Linked DNA regions of Homo sapiens: all the other regions are linked to region 1. Evidence: promoter capture Hi-C in 16 types of primary human blood cells and fetal thymus (Javierre and others, 2016). All regions are on one chromosome and are shown on one strand. Each heading gives the region's core, a stretch centred on a gene start or on the middle of the fragment in contact. The rest is flanking DNA. Distances are from core to core; before and after follow the strand shown. Region 1 holds the start of KRT10 (keratin 10). Region 2 has its middle 6.1 kb from the start of EIF1. Region 3 has its middle 1.7 kb from the start of LINC00974. Region 4 has its middle 5.6 kb from the start of KRT19. Region 5 has its middle 12 kb from the start of KRT17.

Evidence for each region. Contacts are between HindIII fragments. The CHiCAGO score rates a contact against its expected background, and 5 or more counts as called.
Region 2: a contact is called between a fragment that was not itself captured here and the fragment with the promoter of KRT10 in region 1, in 2 of 17 cell types (total CD4 T cells and non-activated CD4 T cells). The highest score is 6.8, in total CD4 T cells.
Region 3: a fragment that was not itself captured here is called in contact with the fragment with the promoter of KRT10 in region 1 in 4 of 17 cell types (M2 macrophages, erythroblasts, M0 macrophages and 1 more); the score reaches 10.4 in M2 macrophages.
Region 4: a contact is called between a fragment that was not itself captured here and the fragment with the promoter of KRT10 in region 1, in 1 of 17 cell types (erythroblasts). The highest score is 5.3, in erythroblasts.
Region 5: a contact is called between a fragment that was not itself captured here and the fragment with the promoter of KRT10 in region 1, in 1 of 17 cell types (M0 macrophages). The highest score is 5.5, in M0 macrophages.

Annotation. Positions count from the first base shown.
Region 1 is chr17:40,821,302-40,824,001 of GRCh38, forward strand. It overlaps KRT10 (keratin 10), which reads right to left and starts at 1,313. Exons shown (of 8, transcript NM_000421.5): 1 at 658-1,313. The coding sequence starts at 1,284. The region is part of intron 1 of KRT10-AS1 (KRT10 antisense RNA 1); the gene reads left to right. The HindIII fragment of the contact is 8,212 bases long and covers 1-2,700 here.
Region 2 is chr17:41,693,660-41,696,359 of GRCh38, forward strand. No RefSeq gene overlaps it. Among named protein-coding and RNA genes, the nearest start is that of EIF1, 6.1 kb to the left of the region's middle. The HindIII fragment of the contact is 4,888 bases long and covers 1-2,700 here.
Region 3 is chr17:41,554,804-41,557,516 of GRCh38, forward strand. No RefSeq gene overlaps it. Among named protein-coding and RNA genes, the nearest start is that of LINC00974, 1.7 kb to the left of the region's middle. The HindIII fragment of the contact is 4,431 bases long and covers 1-2,713 here.
Region 4 is chr17:41,532,585-41,535,284 of GRCh38, forward strand. No RefSeq gene overlaps it. Among named protein-coding and RNA genes, the nearest start is that of KRT19, 5.6 kb to the left of the region's middle. The HindIII fragment of the contact is 1,193 bases long and covers 781-1,973 here.
Region 5 is chr17:41,635,381-41,638,080 of GRCh38, forward strand. It overlaps the pseudogene KRT42P. Among named protein-coding and RNA genes, the nearest start is that of KRT17, 12 kb to the left of the region's middle. The HindIII fragment of the contact is 742 bases long and covers 1,030-1,771 here.

The DNA of each region.
Region 1 (2,700 bases), core at 63-2,562:
ATTTCTCCAGTCTTGTATTTCTGTACACGAATTATTCCTTTCTGAAAACTAACTGGAATTATATAGATGTATTCCTGTAAGTGTGCCCTCCTCTTTTAGACTATGTGATTTCCATGTATTTCAGCCATGCTTTGGCTGACTCACACCTGCATTTGTTTAACTCATGATAAATACTAATAAATAAATACACTCTGAACTGGTACACAATAGGTACAATTCAGAAATTCCTTAGAGGCAAGCAGTGTCCCATTTTCATACTGGAAAATTTATTTTTCTTGCCATGTTGGTACTGAATATGGCTTGTTATCAGTCTGAATAACATTTTGTTCTGATTCATATCATGATTTTTTTTTTCAGTTTCTACATTTGTAAATAGCCTAGCATATTTTAACTGTGGACTCATTGTATGCTCATTAAAACCTCAAAAGTGCTTAGTAAATCTCCCATCCTCTTAAGACAAGTAGCACACTTGCTGGATGAAGATTGCCATGACCATAGTTTCACAGATGTTTATCTTTGATGAGACTGGGTTATTTTTGAAGGAAGAAAGTAACATGGGTAAGCATAGTGAACAGCCACATTGTGCTTAATTTAAGATTCATCTGTCTGGATTACATGGACAAGATACTTAAAGCTGGATTTAAAAATACCTCTTACCTGATTTTTAAGGTCATCGATGGTTTTGTAGTATTTGCTGTAGTCACGAGGCTCCCCCTGATGTGAGTTGCCATGCTTTTCATACCACTCCTTGATTTTGCCTTCCAGCTCATAGTTTGATTCTTCCAGAGCCCGAACTTTGTCCAAGTAGGAAGCCAGGCGGTCATTCAGATTCTGCATGGTTACTTTTTCATTTCCAGAGAGAAGGCCACCATCTCCTCCAAATCCACCACCAAAGCCTCCTCCAAAGCCGCCTCCACCAAAGCCGCCTCCACCAAAGCTGCCCCCACCAAAGCTGCCACCTCCGAAACTGCCCCCTCCAAAGATGCCTCCATAACTCCCACCAAAGCTGCTACTTCCATAGCTTCCACGAAAGCTACCTCCACCAAAACCTCCTAATCCTCCATAGCCACCTGATGAGCCCCCAAAGCAGCCCCCACCAGAGCTCCCACGGCTAAAAGAGCCACCACTGAACCCCCCTGAGCTAAATCCTCCACCAAGGGAGCCTTTGCTGCTAGAAATTCTTAGGGATGACACTCCTCCTCCTCCTCCACATCCTCCTCCTCCTCCTCCTCCTCCACTGCGGGAGGAAGAGTAGTGCTTGCTTGAGCTGTATCGAACAGACATGGTGATGCTGTTTAGCCCAGGGAGTGCCTGCTACCAAGGACAGTGACAAGCCTTTATATACTGAGAGGGTGTGTCCACATGTGTTAGAGTTTGCTTACTTACATTGTTTTCTTTTTGCCAACTTAGCATCTTTGGCTTATGATTGCATAAATTATCTTCAGTAATAACCAATCCTAATATGTACAATTTTGAATTTGCCCTAAGAATAAACAGGAGGTTTGCTATGTTGAAATTGAAAATGGGTGGAGTTCAGATGAGCATGTTTTATTATGCTTTTCACCTGTTGAAGAACATTGAGCAACCGTTAAGATCCATTTTTCTCAGCACTAATTCAGGTTGCATAGAATGTTTGCAAAGTTTAGAAAAAAAAGTTTCAGCTACAAAATTATAGTTAAAATAAGATTTTTCAAATTCATGTTTTAAACAGTTTTAATTGGAGCAACAAATAGCATAAAGTCTGGCAGGATCATGCTACAATAAGGTTCTTGTAGACAACTGTAGGGAATCAAAAAGAAAAAGTTTCTAAAAATTTAACTAGCATCAATAGTTGCCACACATAAAACATTAAAGCCATAAAACCACAATTTAGGAGATTGTGTTTGTAGGAGATCTTTTAATTTATTTGGCAAATGAGAGTATATTGATATTTTGCCTAAGAAAGTGGAAGTAATGATTTTAGAATTTTCTAATTAATGATGGCATTATTTTTAACATTAAAAAATCTGAAATCATAAAGTTATCCTGGATTATTTTGCACTTTTAAATTCATCATAGTTAAGGTTTCTGTGAAGACCATAATAATGCAGAAAATCTGCATTATTTTCTTAGCATGAAATCCGAAGAACTAACTTGTAGTACTTTACACTAAGTTCTGATTGAGTAAAAAGGGAAAATTTGGATATGTTATGATTGCAAGTAAAAATTTGCTTGCAAAAATGTAAATCTATATTAGAGAATGATACTTGCACCAAATATTATGAACTAGACTGTGCACATGTGTTCCCAAGCTAGGTTCAGTTTCTCAATAAAAACAACACATTTTCTTGGATATACTGTGTACAGAATTTGGTATAACAGTTTGTCTAGTGAAGTAAATTGGGATTTTGGTACATTGTATAAGATTATATCTACCCATAGGCTATGACATTGCTGTTGTTTGGATGTATATATTCATACATGTTTTACAATTATGTAGTGCTGTTTGTGATACTGTGCTTTAAAAATTTCTAGAACAAGCTGTTGAGATAGGAATGGTGGTTATTATTATTTCTTTTCTTTCTTTCTTTCTTTCTTTCTTTTTTTTTTTTTAGACGGAGGCTTGCTCTGTCGCCCAGGCTGGAGTGCAGTGGCGCCATCTCGGCTCACTGCAAGCTCCACCTCCCGGGTTCACGCCATTCTCCTGCCTCAGCCTCCCGA
Region 2 (2,700 bases), core at 142-2,641, 870 kb after region 1:
ACTGTTCAATTGGCAATTAAATTTCAACATGGGTTTTGGTTTGGGTGGAGCATTCAAACTATAGCAATGATTCTAACCCCAGCATCAGGAGCTTGTCGTGTTAAAGGTCCTACAAAACCAGTCTGTTTCATGAACACAAAATAATTTAGCCTTGGAGCCAACCAAGGCTCCAAATACAGTGGCATTGTTCAAAATATTTGAGTGAATTTTTTTTTTTTTTGAGATGGAGTCTTGCTCTGTTGCCCAGACTGGAGTGCAATGGCACGGTCTCGCCTCACTACAGTTTCTGCCTCCCAGGTTCGAGCGATTCTCCTGCCTCAGCCTCCCGAGTAGCTGGGACTACAGGCACGTGCCACCACGACTGGCTAATTTTTGTATTTTTAGTAGAGACAGGGTTTCACCATGTTGGCCAGGATGGTCCCGATCTCCTTGACCTTGTGATCCGCCTGCCTCAGCCTCCCAAAGTGCTGGGATTACAGGCATGAGCACCGTGCCTGGCTGGGTGAGACTTTTAAATCAGTAAGATTTGACTGTAATGTAGGAGGTTTTTTCTTGGAGGAACTTCTAGAGCAAGGCGGGAGGCCAAACACACAAAATACTACAATCAGGATGAAACAGCAAGAGAAGAGAATTCCTTCTATGCTGTAGGTTGTGAACACGGCCAGGTTCTGTGCTAGGCTGTTCCATCTCATGCTTTTTAAGGACCTCCAATTCTCTAGGATGGGATTATTCCAAGTTAAACCATCAACATCTATTAAATCAGCTCTGTGAAGCCAAGCGAAACAAGTATCTGTGAACACAGAACTGAGGAAGTTGGTGAACACCCTTATCCACCTGATGTAACCTATCTCAGGCTGAATGAAGAAAAGTATAATTAAAAAGTCATGATGGGCCGGGCGCGGTGGCTCACATCTGTAATCCTAGCACTTTGGGAGGCCAAGACAGGCGGATTGCCTGAGCTCAGGAGTTCGAGACCAGCCTGGGCAACAACGGTGAAACCCTGTCTCTACTAAAATACAAAAAATTAGCCGGGCATGGCGGCGTGCGCCTGTAGTCCCAGGTGGGAGGCTGAGGCAGGACAATCGCTTGAACCCAGGAGGCAGAGGTTGCAGTGAGCCAAGATTGCGCCACTGCACTCCAGCCTGGGCAACAGAGCGAGACTCCGTCTCCAAAAAAAAAAAAGAAGGCATGATGGCTGGTTATGGTGGCTCATGCCTGTAATCCCAGCACTTTGAGAGACCAAGGCAGGCAGATTGCTTGAGTCCAGGACTTCGAGACCAGCCTGGGCAACATGACTAAACCCTGTCTCTACAAAAAATACAAAAATTAGCCAGGCGTGGTGTTGCATGCCTATGCTCCCAGCTACTGGGGAGGCCAAGGTGGGAAAATGGCTTGAGCCCAGGAGGCAGAGGTCGCAGTGCGCCAAGATGGCACCACTGCACTCCAACCTGGGTGACAGAGATAGACACTGTCTCAAAAAAAGAAAACAATGTGATGTGGACATTCCCAAGGTAAGTTGTGGAGCCTCATCTAGAACCCAGGACTCCCTGTGTACCCCTCCTCCCACCAGCTGCACCTGTACATTCACAATTTCTGTAACTCATTTTCCCGGTGGAGTGGGAGCAGAAATAAATAAATAAATGCTCATCTTACAGAGATTGTTGAGTGCTTGGTATCTGTAGTACACTACAGGGCATGTCAGGCAGACCCCCTGCACTCAGGGAGCTGACTGCCTGGTAGGTAGATGTAAGACCAGCACACAGCCTTGACGCAGGACAGAAAGGGACCCAAAGAGCCACAGGATCTCTGAGGACTGCGAAATCTTCCCCACTCCCATCCTCAGCCAAGGGGGCCAAGAAGGCTTCATAAAGGAGGTGCTGTCTGAAGCCAAGCATTTCGAGCAGAGAAAAAGAGTCACACCCAGAGGTGAAAAGGCACCTGGAAGCCGGCGCAGTGGCTCACGCCTGTAATCCCAGCACTTAGGGAGGCCAAGGCCAGCAGATCACTTGAGGTCAGGAGTTCGAGGCCAGCCTGGTCAACATGGCGAAATCCCATTTCTACTAAAAATACAAAAATTAGCTGGGCGTGGTGGCGGGCGAGATCGTGCCACTGCACTCCAGCCTGGGCAACAGAGCGAGACTGCGTCTCAAAAACAAAAACAACAACAAAAAAAAGAAAGATTGATTATGCTGAAAAGGTCCCTCAGCTCTCTGCTCCTTAGTCCTCCTCTCCCACCCCAAACCCCCCCAGCCCTCCTGCCCCCATCCCCACACGCTGCAACAGCTACACGCAAGGACAAACTGAGTGTTTCTTAAGATGGTGTTATGAAGACAAAATGAAAACTGGTCAGCTAAAACTGCATAAGAAGCTACAAAACAACTTTAGAACCTATTCCAATTGCTGTCAACTCTATGAATAAGCCAGAAAAACACATAGCATATTTGGAGAACTGAACATGACCCCCTTCCTGGTTTATCAGCCTCGATGGTGCCCCCTTGTGGCAGTAGTGTAAAAACACAGTTTACTGTGCACAAGGCTTTACAATTTTTCAATTAAGAGCTCCTTGACCAATTTTTAACTTTTTTTTTGGTGGGGGGACAGAGTCTCACTCTGTTTCCCAGGCTGGAGTGCAGTGGGGTCTCCTGCTAGGCACCATGCACCCTTGTTGCCCCCTCCTGCTCAAGCCTCTCATTTCTTCCA
Region 3 (2,713 bases), core at 109-2,608, 730 kb after region 1:
TTTCTTTCCTTTTTTTTTCTTTTCTTTTTCTTTTTTTTTTTTTAATTTAGAGACAGTCTCATTCTGTTGCCCTGGCTGGAGTACAGTGGTATGATCATGGTTCACAGCAGCCTCAAACTTCTGGGCTCAAGTGATCCTCCCACCTCAGCCTCCCAAGTAACCCAGTAATTAGGACAACAGGTGCATGCCACCATGCCTGTCCAATATTTTTTTCTTTTTTTGGTAGATGCGGGGTCTTGCTCTGTTGCCCAGGCTGATCTCAAATTTCTGGCTTCAAGTGATCCTCCTACCTCAGCCTCTCAAAGTGCTGGGAATACAGACATGAGCCGCCACACCCAGCCCACATAAGGTATTTTTGACAAGCCTCTGCTTATGGGATTTGCTAGCCTCTGTATTCTTTTGGGGCTCAATAATTGCTCAAGGCCATAGAGAACAGGAAACAGAGCACCAGCTTTGGAGCCAGGCCAAACTGGAATTATATCTTTGCTTGATCATTTACAAGCTATGTGACCTTGGACAAGTTACTTAACCTCTCTAACTTAGAATTTCCTCATCTATAAAATGGGCTTCATAATCCCAGTGTCCTTGGATCAGACTTCCTAGATTCAGTTCCTGTCTCCACTGCTTAGGAGCTGTGTGACCTTTTCAGCAAGTCATTTAATCTCGCTAAAAATGTTTCCTCATGTGTAAAATGAAAACAAGGACAGCATCATGAGATTGCTGTGAAGATTAGATACAGGGTTTATTCCCTTATCTTATATAAAATGCTTAGCGAAGTGCCTGGAACATTATTAAGTGCGCAATCAGTGTTAGTCCTTGCTCCTTCCTTGTGGACAATTGTTCTTACACTTAGTCGCCCAGCTCCTTTGTAAAGGAATTCTCCCTCTAGTGTCTGTGCCTCCTGGCTATAGAAGCCAGAAATTAGCCTTCCAGCCTCCCTTGCAGCTGGAGCACAGACACATGATCAGTCACACACATCACAGAAGCCTGTAAGCTGGGAGCTAATGTCCTAAAAAAGGAGGCACCTGGTGGAATCCATGCTGGAAGGAATAACTGCAGACCTCCAGTTTCTAGAAGCAGCAGCGCCACAAGTTTGGTGATAGCGCCAAGTGGAATGGGCTACTGAATCTGCACCTGCAGATAGTGGCAAGGGTGGGCTTGCTCCGGGCTGTGCTGCCTTCAAACCTGTTCCCTGCGAGTTCTTCCTGGAGAGTCTATGGCTTACCTAACATCCTTTAACAAACTGGCTTCAGAGTGTGGCTTCTGATCTTTGCAGGCAAAAACCCTGATGGCTACAGAATTTAGTAACAAGTGTGATTACTGGCATGAGACTTCTAAAAGATCTCCGTTTGGGTGTCCAAAAGACAATGTAAATTTAGCATGTCTGAAACTGACTCCCCATCTTTCATACCAGCCAACTTCCATCCCACAACTCCTATCATCCAGTTGCTCAGACAAAAGACTCAGAGACCTCCTTGACTTCTTTCTTTTACAATATGCAGTCCTTCAAGAACTCCTGGCAGTGCTTTCTTCAGATGATGCTCAGAATCCAGCCACCTCTGACCGTCTTCACTCTGAGTGCCAGGGGCTCTTCACCTCCCTGCACACTGGGCTCTCTGTTTCTGCTCCTAGCCTCGCAGCCTCTCATCAAGTGGCCTGTCACTCCTCTGCTCAAGGCACTGTGTGTTAGGATGATCATCAGCACTAGCTGCTGTGCCTGGAGTGGTCCCCACACACGCTTGACTGCCTCCCTCACTCCGTCAAGTTGATACAGAAGGGCTGGGCTCCTGGCTAAACCCTACCCTTAAGCCTGGAACCTCGGCCCTAAAGGACCCCATTTTCCCCAAAAATGTTACCTTTTTGGCCTGCCTGCCCACATGCTGTGCCCATAAAAGACTTCAGCTGGCAGAGCAACACAAGCGGCTGAGCACTGAGGATATAAGCAGCTGAGCGGCGAGCAGAAAAGCAACTGAGCATCGGAGACTGTGGATAGATCTGGCTAACTTCAGATGGTGCAGCTTTGGAGAGGGGCCCTGCCGGAGACGGTGGGGCTTCAGGGAAAGATCACCATCCCATCACCTTTCCATCCTCCCTTTCCACTGAGAGCCACCCAACACCCAGTAAAGTATTTTGCATTCGTCACCTTTCAAACAGTTTATGTGACCTGATTCTTCTTCCTGGACGCCAGACAAGAACCTGGGTGCCAAGAAGGCAGGGGCTGCCACCCTGAACCTCCATTGAACTGGTTGGTATTTGGCCATCCCCTGACAGCACAGCTGAAAGAATAGGGACGCTGCTGCAGGGCCCGAACAGAGCCTGCTCCTGCCAGAGAGGAGCAACCGGCTGGTTCCAGCGTTCATTTGCTCCGGTTCCCACACTTGCTCACACACTCACTCCCACAAGGAGTGGCCAGCAACAGGCTGAGTGAAACAAAGTGCTCCTTAGCTGGGCGTGATGGTGTGTGCCTGTAATCCCAACATAAGAAACCCCATCTCTACTAAAAATACAAAATTAGACGGGCTTGGTGGCCCGTGCCTGTAATCCCAGCGACTCGGGAGGCTGAGGCAGGAGAATCACTTGAACCCGGGAGACGGAGGTTGCAGTGACCTGAAATCTCACCACTGCACTCCAGCCTGGGCAACAGGGCGAGACTCAGTCTCAAAAAAAAACAAAACAAAAACAAAAAACAAAGTGCTCCAGTTCCCGCCCATGA
Region 4 (2,700 bases), core at 127-2,626, 710 kb after region 1:
ACTTCATGAGCTTGCATGTCCTGTCAATTAGTAGCTCCTTACCTGAACGGCCTCCGCTTCCCCAGGGACCACCAGCACAAGGAACTTCCTCACCCGCTCCTCCATTCATTCAGTGAACATGCATCAAGCGCAGCTTCTGTGCTACGCATGCTGCCAGGGGCTGGGGCACAGAAGTAAATACAAATATTTCCTGCCTCTAAGAGGCTGACAATCTGGTAGGGGGGTGTATAGAAGTGTATTAGCTTTGGTGAAATGTGGTAGGTTCAATAGCTACATCAATTTTGACTCCTTCCTAAAACCCTGCTATGATATGACAGTTAAGGAGTATTTTAAGAGAATGGAAGAAGAGGTGAGGCACAGTGGCACACGCCTGTAATCCCAGCGCTTTGGAAGGCCGAGGCGGGCAGACTGCTTGAGCTCAAGAGTTTGAGACTGGCCTAGGGAACATGGCGAACTCCTGTCTCTACCAAAAATGCAAACAATTAGCTGGGCATGGTTGTGTGCACCTGTAGTACCAGCTACACAGGACGCTGGGGTGAGAGGATCACCTGAGCTTGGGAGGTGGAGGCTGTAGTGAGCCAAGATTGCGTCACTGCACTCCAGCCTGGGTGACAGAGTAAGACCCAGCTGGAAGGGAGGAAGAAAGGAAGGAAGGAAGGAAGGAAGGGAGGGAGGGAGGGAGGGAGGGAGGGAGGAAGGGAGGGAAGGAGGAGGGGAGGGAAAGAAGGAGGGAAGGAGGAAAGGAAGGAGGGAGGGTCAAAGATGAGAAATGTCAACAAAAGCTTTAAAGCTCAAAAATGGTAACACAGAAGATGAGAGAAAGCTGAGACCCAGGGTTTGGGGGATTAGGAAGGGGTCAACAGAGGAGAGAGCAGGAAGCCCGTGAGAGGCAAGCACATTCTCAACATACTCTAAAGAAGCTCAAGAATTGGGGCACCACAGACATGGAGAGGAAAAGTGGAAGAGGGACCGTAAGCAGGGCTGGCTGGAAGTTTCTGTCAACAGTACCAGGCCCCCTCCCAGACCCCTACCCAACTAAGGCAGCCAGGGGACCACCTCTCCCCAATTCAGGAGAAGACAGGAGATTTACTTTTCCTGATTAGACTGGCCTGCTCACAACGTTTGATGATGTCAAGTGTAGAGAAGCCATGAGTAAATGAACCTCCTCAAACACATTGGTGGGAGGTGGGTTGTAGTAACCACTTTGCAGAGCGATTTGACAATGTCATCATTTTTTTTAACATTCATGCACTTCTTGAGCCATCAGTTCCACTCTTCGTGTTCATCCGAAAGAAACCCTGGCCCGTGTATTGAGGAAGTCATATAAAAGGATGCCCTATGCAGCATTGTTTGCTACAGTGCAAAGACACAAACAATCACTAATGGCGGGGAGGCGTTCAGTAACTATGTAACATCCTGCTGTGGAGGACTAGAAATTAAATGGAATGAGTAATGACAATGAATAGTGACACTGAAAACCCTAAAGAACTAGTTATTGGGCCGGACATGGTGGCTCACGCCTGTAATCCCAGCACTTTGGGAGGCCAAGGTGGGTGGATCACCTGAGGTCAGGAGTTCGAGACCACCCTGGCCAACATGGTGAAACCCCGTCTCCACTAAAAGTACAAAAATTAGCCAGTCGTGGCGGCGGGTGCCTGTAATCTCAGCTACTCGGGAGGCTAAGGCAGGAGAATTGCTTGAACCCGGGAGGCAGAGCTTGCAGTGAGCTGAGATCGAGCCATTACACTCCAGCCTGGGTGACAAGAGTGAAACTCCATCTCAAAAGAAAAAAAAAAAAAAACTAGTTGTTGGGTACAGTAAATCTAGTTGGAGAGCAACACACTTAATATGATAAATTCATGTCAACATACATTCAAAAGATGACTTATTGCTAAGGTCCATATGAATATGTATGAATATATGCATAGGTAAGGAAGGAATCTGATTGAAGGATGGTAGCCAATAGGAACCTAAGCTTAATCTCTATGGTTTTAAGTTTTATAAGAATGTATTTAGTATTTCTTGTTAATTAAAGTAAATAATTTCTTAAGTAACACTAAACCACAGACATTTAGAACTAGCCAAATTTCATATAGTCAATACCCTCTTCCCCTCCCTGCACTCACCACTGACATCATTGTCTCTGCTCATCCACACCAACCCTAGCCTTGAATTGAGAAATGAGAGAGGAAGTTTTGGAAGAGGGAGAACTAGATGTGAGGAGAAAAGAGACCCTGGAAAGGGTTTCCATCCTCGTGCCCCCACCCCTGGGTCCGCCAGGCTAGTTTTACTTCTTTATGAAACAAGAAGGCAAAACGGACAAGAAGAACTTTGGAAGAGTCTGAGTACAGGGAGAGCTCCTTGCAGCCGATGACTTACACCTGAGGAAAGCCCTCCCACTCTGGTTCTCCAAGGATCCATCGTCTGGAAGCATCTGAAGTTGGCCCCCCTGGGTGTTCTCACAACAGACAACAAGGCTCTCCCAGGTGGTGGCGTGGATCTGTGGGGCTACAGCTGGTGGCAGAGCAGAGGGTATTCTATGCAAGACAGCAGCCACCTTGTGGGCACATGCGAGGCATTCCCCTGGGGACTTTCTGAAATAACTGGAAGATCTTTAGGGGGTGCTGGAGTGGGAGCCACCATGTGGGCCATCAGGCTAGAGCTATTGACCCAGTATTGAGGTATGCCTCAAACCAATCA
Region 5 (2,700 bases), core at 151-2,650, 810 kb after region 1:
GTCATGCCCCGAGGAACGGCCCCTGCAAAAGAGCAGCATGATCCGCAGGCTGGTGGCTGGCACCGCTCCACCCAACAAGGAGATTAGTATCCTAATCTCCGCGGCACTAATGATTTAGGTGCTGCCAGGACACCGGCGTCTGCACCAGGCCTGTCTGAATGTGGAGCTTCCCAGGGCAGCCAGGGCCCGCGGAACAGGAGAGGGGAGAGAAGTGCATGGGTGGCCTGGGCTCTCTGCCCGCATACGGGGACAGGGAGGGAGTTGGGTTTTCCATGTGGCCCAGAGCTCCCAGATGAGACCACACTGCTGGAAAGACTTCCTGCTCAGATAGTGGGTGGTCTCTCACGGAAAGTGCCAGCTGGGGACTGTGCCAGCTGGGAATGGCAGGAGCTATCTGGAAGAGAGCGGTTGAGCCCTGATTTTACTGCTCCCGCCCAGCCTGTGAAGGTGCTGGGCGGGGATGGGGGGAGGTTCAAAACCAAGGCTAGAGAGCAAGGTCAGACCACCATGAGCACGAGGTTAGACATCTGGAAGGACTTCCTGGCAATCCAGGACTGTCTTCGGGGAGGAGAGAGACCCAGTAAAACCCGTGCTCACCTGAGCCGCCAGAGTCAAGACTGCACCAGCAGGCACTCACACACGAAGAGACACGAAACCAAGACCCTCCCCATCCCCATCCTCTCCTAACAACCCCTCCCTTCCCAGGCCCCATCCTCCCCTAGGCCAGCTGGGCTACCCAGGTGGGCCTCACTCTGGGCTCACAAAAGGGACTGCCCCGCCTTCCAGCAGCAAATGTGGGGCAAAGCCAGGGCCCTAGGGAGGGGGCCAGGTCGTGGGGTGCCACCACCCCTCTGCCTCCCCGTAGAGCCCACACCGCCAGTGCTCACCCTGCCTGGGAACCCCACTTCCAGAGTACCCAGACCTTAGTCTTGAGGCCCAATTTGAAGGAGCAGAGAGTTTATTACTCTTCTTTCTGCCTCTAAAATCACCAAGGCCTCCAACCCCCAATACCACCATTTAGCCCCCACAAGCTTCCTCACCCCTGACAGGCTTTGGGCCGCGAGCCTGCTCCTCTTCCTCTCTGGGCCTCAGTTTCCCCACGCCACTGACCCCCCCCCCAGGCCCCTTTGCTACTGCTCGTTAGAGGCTCTACTGCCTGTGAATCCCCCTCTAGCCCCCAACCCAGAGAAGCCTCACATGCTGAGGACAGGCCGGGCCAGCTGGGCCAGCCGGGCAGGAGGGCACAGCTCAGATCTCAGCAGAGATAGAAGTGGGACCCCAGGAAGGCCTCCCTGGCCCTCCAGAGCGTGGGGCCACTCCCTGGCCAGGGCTAGGAAAATGCAAACATTCCTCCTGAGACCCTCACAACAGTGCCTTGAGGACACCAAGACACAGGGTGCTTGAGCAGCGGGCAGTCGGGCAACCCAATGTTGGCATCAGAGCCGGGCCTGAAGCCAGGGCCTCGGCAGCTCCCACTCTCCCAGCCAGGGAGGAAGGCTTGACAGGGGCCGGCTGGAGGGCCACACAGAGGTCCTCTGGGCTGTGGCACATCCTGTCTGGGCCTGTCCTCCACCCCCAGCAGGGAGAGATCCCTGGCACCCGCAAGGGGCAGCCCAGGCCTGCAGCCCCGGCAGCGGCAGCAGCTTGGCCCCCATGGAAGACAAAGGGGTAAAGAAGGAGAGGTCCAATGGCTCTTCCAGCCCCAGAGGCTGCTGGAGCCCAGCGCAGGTGGGAGAGGGGGAGGCCCAGGGAGGTGGCTGGGAGAACTTGAAGCTTCCCCCAGTGCCCTGGGTGCCAGCCCCACCTTGACTCCCCCTCAGTCTCCTCTGCAGAGAGTGCAGAAAAGCCAGCATGCTGGAGAGCGCAGCACAGACAGGACCTGCCTGGAATTTGAGCAGAGCTAGGGTTTGGGGACAGTGTCCCCTAATATCACCCCTACTATGTTGTGGGGAGGCAGAGGGCGTAGAATGATCTGGGGCCCTATGGAAAGGAGATGTTCAATAGATGCATTTTTTTTTACTTTAAATAGAGATGGGGTCTCACTATATTACCCAGGCTGGTCTCAGGCTCCTGGGCTCAAGCAGTCCTCCTGCCTCTGCCTCCCAAAGTGCTGGGATTATAGGAGTGAGTCACCACGCCCAGCCAATAGATGCATATTGATATTGACAAGGTTGACAAGGTCTGGACAGGATCAGTGGCTCACACCTGTAATCCCAACACTTTGGGAGGCCGAGGCAGGCAGATCACTTGAGGTCAGGAATTTGAGACCAGCCTGGCCAACATGGTGAAACCCCGACTCTACTGAAAATACAAAAATAAGCCAGGCGTGGTAGTACCTGTAATCCCAGGTAGTCAGGAGGCTGAGGCAGGAGAATCGCTTGAACCCGGGAGGTGGAGGTTGCAGTGAGCTGAGATCGTCCCACAGCCCTCCAGCCTGGGCAACAGAGCGAGGCTCCATCTCAAAAAAACAAAAGAAAAAACAAAAAGACAAGGTCATGCCCCGTCTGCCCAGCTGGCCTTGGCTCCTACGAGCCCCCGCAAGGATTAACTGTCAACCCTTAGGATGGTGCCCACCCCATACCCCACACCCCTGCCCAGAACCAGCGCGGGCTGTATGCAGCAGGTGCTCTGTGAGTGCTTGCTGAATTGTTAGGGTCATGGAGCCTGAGCAGTGACTGGGGAGGAGACAAGGTCCCAGGA